Linked DNA regions of Homo sapiens: region 1 is linked to region 2. Evidence: promoter capture Hi-C in human tissues and cell types (Jung and others, 2019). All regions are on one chromosome and are shown on one strand. Each heading gives the region's core, a stretch centred on a gene start or on the middle of the fragment in contact. The rest is flanking DNA. Distances are from core to core; before and after follow the strand shown. Region 1 holds the start of NPLOC4 (NPL4 homolog, ubiquitin recognition factor). Region 2 holds the start of ALYREF (Aly/REF export factor).

Region 1 (3,365 bases), core at 382-2,881, 250 kb before region 2:
GGAACCACCAGAGAACAGCCTTGCAAATAAGTGCTAGGTTCTCCTGGAGACCCATTTGTTTGTGTGTGTGAGACAGTCTCATTCTGTCGCCCAGGGTGGAGTCCAGTGACGCCACCTAGGCTCACTATGTTGTCCAGGCTGGTCTTGAACTCCTGACCTCAGGTGATCCACCCACCTGGGCTTCCCAAAGTGCTGGGATTACAGGTGTGAGTCACCGCGCCGGGCCTGGAGACCTATTCTAGACAACACCTGGCAAAACTGCAGAGACTGTCACAATGCTACAGTATGAACATTACTCTTCACCCAATACTGCTAAGCTTCCCCCAGAAATCCCAAATCTTCCTTAATATTAACCAAAATGCTCCTGTCCAATGGTCAGTTAGTTTTTTTCCCATCACATTTACTTTTGGGAAGAAACTTCTCACAACTTAACGAGGGACTGGTTTTCTGATTTGTCACTGATATTTTTTACGTTAAGGAGGAGTGTGTGACAATTTTTTTTTTTTTTTTGAGACGCAGTCTCGCTCTATAGCCCAGGCTGGAGTGCCATGGAGGGATCTCAGCTCACTGTAACCTCCACCTCCCGCGTTCAAGCAATTCTCCTGCCTCAGCCTCCCAAGTATCTGGGATTACAGTGCGCCATGACGCCCGGCTAATTTTTTGTATTTTTAGTAGAGACAAGATTTTGCCATGTTGGCCAGGATGGTCTCGAACTCCTGACCCCAGGTGATCCACCCGCCTCGGCCTCCCAAAGTGCTGACATCACAGGCGTGAGCCACTGCGCCGGGCCGACAATTTCAATTTCAGGTAAAAAGTGAAATCAACATCATTTACAACATTCCTTTTAAAGAGGAATTGTCAAGTTGTCCTTCCAAGTAAGGAGCAAAGCCGGCAAGTTACTGTGTTTTCATTTTCCCAGGTCTTCTGGTGGGGAGGGAGCTCTGTAACGTCCCCGTCTGCAGAGCTGCTCTCCTTAGTGACTCATGACAAGGCACTTGCTGGGAAGCGGGAGAGCAGGAGGAGAGAATCAGAGGGAGATTAGGATAAGAGGTGTCCCTGGCTCTGAGAGGGGCAGGACTGGCTGGGAGTCCCTGGAATTAGACCAGGAAGTCTCCTGGAGCCGGGAAACGGGTGGGGAAGGAGGGCGGTTTCTCTTCGCCACAGTCCATTCTCCCTGCTTAGAAAGGCTCGGCCTTTCCCTGCCCAGGGCGGGGAACCGGGGTCGTAAGTCCCCTGGGGAGGGACACGGACGGGAAGCAGCCGAGGGGGGTGAAAGTCCCCGAGAGGGGCCCAGCCACTACAGAGAAAGCCCTGGCGAGAGAAGAGAAAGGGGCCGAGTCGCGGCGCCGGCAGGCCCGCCTCCCCCACAGGCCGAGGCCGGCAAATCTGCTGCCTCATCCCGGCGTCCCCGCTCCCGCCCGGCCGCCGCACTCACGATGCTCTCGGCCATGGCGGCTGCTCCTGCCTCCGGGCTCGAGCCCCGGGCCGCCGCCGCCTGCCGCCCCAAGGGCCTCGCAGACCCGGCCGCGGCCTCAGCCCCGGCCCCGGCCTCCCTACGCCGCCGCCACCGCCGCTCCAGCTTCGCCCGCCCGGCTCCGCCAGCCGCCGACGTCCCGGTGCCTCGCTCAATACGCTCCCCTCGGGCGCGAGGCCGGGAAACCAGGTTCCGGCCCCACCAACGGCTCGACGCATGCGCAGGGCGGCGCCGCTGACCCGCCCCCGCCATCCCTGCAACTGGAGGAGGGGATTTTGGAAAGTTGCGTCTGAGATTACTTCTGCTCGTCCTCGGAAACCCAAGCGGCACAGGAAAGTCCAAAAAGGAAGCAAAGACGAGCATCCGAAGTCTCACCCAAAAATAACTACTGCTGCGTATTATAGCGTATTATAATTGGGGAAACAGCATTCCAAACTTCTCTCCATGCACAGGTAAGTAGAGAAACAATTTCAGGAAGGCAGGATCACACCTTCATGTTTTTTTTTTTAAGTATTTTTTAAATTTAACATAAGAAAAACAAACGAGTTTAAACTGCATTTCAGGCCGGGCGCGGTGGCTCATACCTGTAATCCCAGCATTTTGGGAAGCCAAGGTGGACGGATCACCTGAGGTCAAAAGTTCGAGACCAGCCTGGCCAAAATGGTGAAACCCCGTCTCTACTCAAAATACAAAATTAGGCCATACGCGGTGGCTCACGCCTGTAATCCCAGCACTTTGGGAGGCCGAGGCAGGTGGATCACCTGAGGTCAGGAGTTCAAGACCAGCCTGACCAACGTGGTGAAACCCCGTCTCTACTAAAAATACAAAAATTAACTGGGCGTGGTGGCGGGCACCTGTAATCCCAGCTACTCGGGAGTCTGAGGCCGGAGAATCTCTTGAAGCGAAGAGGCGGAGGTTAGAATGAACTGAGTTGGTGCCACTGCACTCCAGTCTGGGCGACAGAGTGAGACTTCATCTCAAAAAAAAAAAAAAAAGACGTCACTTCACAGATTCTAAGGATTTTTGGAGTTGGATACCAGGAAACCGGAAGACTAAATGTATACATATTTCACAACATCACAATTACTGTGACAGTTTTTTTAAACTATGTTAAATTACATTAATTGATTAAATTATGTTAGTAATTGTATTAGTTTGCTCAGGGTGCCACTGTAACTACCCAACATATTGTCCCTGCCCACTGCCTAGACTTTATCAAGACAGGGGAATTGCAATAAAGAGTTTAATTCACACAGAGCCAGCTTGTACAGGTTACTGAGGTTTTATTACTACTCAAAAAAAATTAGTGTCCTTGAGAATTCAGGGATCAGAGTTTTTTGTTTTTTGTTTTTTTTTGTTTTTGAGTCCGAATCTCACTCTGTCACCCACACTGGAGTGCAGTGGCGCGATCTCGGCTCACTGCAACCTTCACCTCCTGGGTTCCAGTGATTCTCCTGCCTCAGCCTCCCGGGTAGCTGGGACTACAGGCGCACACTACCATGCCTGGCTAATTTTGTATTTTTCGTAGAGACGGAGTTTCTCCATGTTGGTCAGGCTGGTCTTGAACTCCTGACCTCAGGTGATCCGCCCACCTGGGCCTCCCCAAAGTGCTGGGACTATAGACGTGAGCCACCGTGCCCGGCTGGGGATCCGCGGTTTTAAGGATAATTTGGTGGGTATGGGGTCAGAAAGTAGGGAGTGTTGATTGGTTGGGTCAGAGGTGAAATGATAGGGAGTCAAAACTGTCCTCTTGTGCTGAGTCGGTTCCTGGGTGGGGGCCACAAGATATGAGCCAGTTTATCAATCTGGGTGGTGCCAGCTGATCCATGGAGTGCAGAGTCTGCAAAATATCTCAAGCGCTGATCTGTTTTTTAATAGTGATGTTATCCTG
Region 2 (3,139 bases), core at 470-2,969:
GGAGTTGGAGAGGGAACCCAGAGTGTGGGGATACTCCGGCCGCAGGCACACAGCGGGAACTGGAGTTCACCAAAAGCGGTTTCCAGTGGATGCTAGAAACCACCTTAAAAAAAGTGTTGAGACACTGTGAGTGCTCACTGGCCCTACTCTGTCCTCCCAAGGCAAATGGCTGGGCTGTGGGCAACTGAACCCTGCCCAGCCATCTCCAAAACTGATTCCCAAAAAGTCATTTCTTAACCAGAAAACAAGTTGAAATGCCATTGGGATTCAATTTTTCTTTTTTTAAAAAAGAAAAGCTTCAACCAAAGATGGATTTGAGAGTCATGTCACTGACGGGACACGGCGGTGGGGAGTGATAAAACCACAGCGTACAAGGTCTTTATAAGACAGTACTCAAGGCAAACAGAGCCAGAAAAACAGACTCCCTGTGCTTCACAAGATACATAAAGAAGATTCTTTTTCTCACATTAACCCACTAAGACAGGCACAAAATTTAAAAAGCAACTGGGCTGGGTCTAACAGCCAAAAACCACTCACATTTGGTCAGTCTTTGTCCCTGTTAGAAACTGGAAGCCCTGGCAGGGGATTTTCACTCACAGAACCCATCTTCAGACTAACAGCAGCAGTTCCTCAGGCTCAGCTAGGCTCGCACCTGCCTGCGCACTGACCCCGGCTTTACTAGCACTGGGTCTGTCCTGCAGCCCTTCAGAGCTGGGAGGGCTCCCTTCGCTAAGGCGGGAAGGGGACTCAGGGCCACATCCCCAAAATCACGATCCGTCCTGTGCAGGGCGAACGGCTCACCGAGAAGCCCTCGTCTCTTACCTGAATATCGGCGTCTGAGACTCCAAAATCCAGATTGGACACCAGCAGTTTCCCACCTGTCTCCACGCCGGCACCACCGCCGAAGCCACTGTCGAAAAGATCGTGCTGCCACTTGTCGGGAAGTTGTTTTGGCTGAAAAAAAAACCGCAACAAGAGCAGATCTGTGAGTCTCAGTCCAGGGCTTTCCTGACCCTCACGGCTACTCCGGACCCTTCCTCTTCCCGGCCTGAGAGGATCCGGCCGAAACGGGGCCGCCAGCGCTCCCTCCGGCGCTGCAGCTGCCCCAGCCCGAGGCCGCACGGTCCCACCGCGGCCGCACAACTTCAGTTCCCTTAGACTAACTTCCCGCCGCCTGTGCCGCGCCCAGCGTCCCCTCCTCTCCTGCCACGAGGCCCCAACGTCCGGAACAAACAAAGAGCTGGGAAGGGTCTCAGCCTCCGGGACCGGACCCCGAAAGAACGACCTCGCTCCCGCCCACCACCCCCTCCGCGCCCACACGCACCCTCCGGACCTCCGGGCGGCCGCTCCACCAGCCTTATCCACCCGCCGGCCCGGGTCTCCGCCGCGAGCGGCCCCGGCCCCAGCCCCGGCTGGCCCCCTCCCACTCTCCGGCGCGGCCGGCCTCCGCACTCACCCTGCTGTAGGGCGCCGGTCGGTTCCTGCCGCCTCCGCCGGCCGCGCCGCGGGCGATGGCCGGCCGGTTCCGGATGGGCCCGCCGCCTCGATTCACTCGCGCGGCGGCCTGCGCCCCACCGCCGCGGCCGCCCTGGGAGCCGGCCCGGCCGCGGCCCCGGCCCCCGCCCCGGCCGCCTCGCTGGCTCCGGTTCAGTTTAATGATGTCGTCCAGAGACATGTCCATTTTGTCGGCCATGGCGGGCGCGGAATCGGGCATCGGCTCGAGCCCGCGCGTCAGCACGCCGGCACGTCACTTCCGGCGCCGCGTGAGGCCTTCCGGTGCCACGGCCTCGGAGCGGCTGCTGATTGGCCGCTGGCGGACGGCTGCGCGCGCGGGACGGGGTGAGGCGGGGAGGCGCGTGCGCACTGGCGTGCGAGACTCGGCGGGCGCTGTTGAGGGAGTCGGGCCGCGACTGTGGTCGTTTTTATACCTTCCCGCGCGGACGCCGGCGCTGCCAACGGAAGGGCGGGTAGGGCGGTGCGTGATTAGGTTGGCGAAGGTGCGAGGGCGCAGGGGGTGGGGCGGCGGCCGTTGGAGGCGGAGCCTACGCGCCCCTCCCTCCCCGCACGCTCCGCCCGATCGGCCAGGGCTGGGGGCGCTGGGGGCGCTACGGGCGCGGCGGGTGCCTGGGAGCTGCTGGGAGTCCTTGTTTCCGCTCCCGCCCAGGACTGTGCGCTCGGCTCGCGGTGGGGTCCGGCGGGCGCGGCTTCGGCGGGCGGCAGCCGCTGCAGACGAGCTGCGGGTTGGTTTTTTGGTCTCCACCTGCAGCCCCCCCAAGTCTGCACTGTCACATTTTGCCAGTCATATCCTTTACAAGTTTTCTTGCGGGCCGGGCGCGGGCCTCACGCCTGTAATCCCAGCACTTTGGGAGGCCGAGGCAAGAGGTTCGCTTCAGCCCAGGAGTTTGAGACCAGCCGGGGCAACATCGTGAGACCCCCATCTCTAAAAAAAAAAATGAGCTGGGCATGGTGGTGCACTTCTGTACTACCAGCTACTTGGGAGGCCGAGGTGGGAGGATTGCTTGAGCCCAGGAGGTCGAGGCTGCAGTGAGCCGTGGTGGCACCACTGCACTCCAGCCTGGGCGACAGAGCCAGACCCTGTCTCCAAAAAAAAATTATTTTTGCAACTTATTAATGAAAACCAGTGTGCCATTTCATTGATTTTTTTTTTTTTTTTTTGAGGCAGTCTCATTCTGTCGCCCAGGCTGGAGTGCAGTGGGGCGATCTCGGCTCACTGCAACCTCTGCCTCCTGGGTTCAAGCGAGTCTCCAGCGGCAGCCTCCCGAGTAGCTGGGACTACAGGCACGTGCCACCATACCTGGCTAATGTTTGTATTTTTAATAGAGACAGGGTTTCGCCATGTTGGCCAGGGTGGTCTTGAACTCCTGACCTCAGATGATCCGCCCGCCTTGGCCTCCCAAAGTGCTGGGATTACAGGCATGAGCCACCACACCCAGCCCATTTCATGGATTTTAAGTTGTTTTGAGATACTTGCTTTTGTTTTTGTTTTTTGAGTCAGGGTCTCCCTCCGTCACCCAGAGTGGAGTGCAGTGGTGTGATCTTGGCTCACTGCAGCCTCAAACTCCTGGGCTCGAGCTATCCTCCCACGTCAGCCTCTCAGGCAGCTGGTGCACGCCACCAC

The links. Contacts are between HindIII fragments. The study calls those that stand out against the background at their distance.
Region 1: the fragment with the promoter of NPLOC4 here is called in contact with the fragment with the promoter of ALYREF in region 2 in 4 of the 25 tissues and cell types used here (adrenal gland, dorsolateral prefrontal cortex, lymphoblastoid cells and 1 more).

Annotation. Positions count from the first base shown.
Region 1 is chr17:81,635,481-81,638,845 of GRCh38, forward strand. NPLOC4 (NPL4 homolog, ubiquitin recognition factor) reads right to left here and starts at 1,632. Exons shown (of 17, transcript NM_017921.4): 1 at 1,436-1,632. The coding sequence starts at 1,450. TSPAN10 (tetraspanin 10) reads left to right here and starts at 1,716. Exons shown (of 4, transcript NM_001290212.2): 1 at 1,716-1,926. RefSeq lists a silencer at 1,362-1,571. The HindIII fragment of the contact is 41,196 bases long and covers 1-3,365 here.
Region 2 is chr17:81,889,867-81,893,005 of GRCh38, forward strand. It overlaps ALYREF (Aly/REF export factor), which reads right to left and starts at 1,720. Exons shown (of 6, transcript NM_005782.4): 1 at 1,457-1,720; 2 at 823-954. The coding sequence starts at 1,714. It overlaps ANAPC11 (anaphase promoting complex subunit 11), which reads left to right and starts at 1,857. Exons shown (of 4, transcript NM_001002248.3): 1 at 1,857-1,975. RefSeq lists a silencer at 1,737-2,276. The HindIII fragment of the contact is 25,438 bases long and covers 1-3,139 here.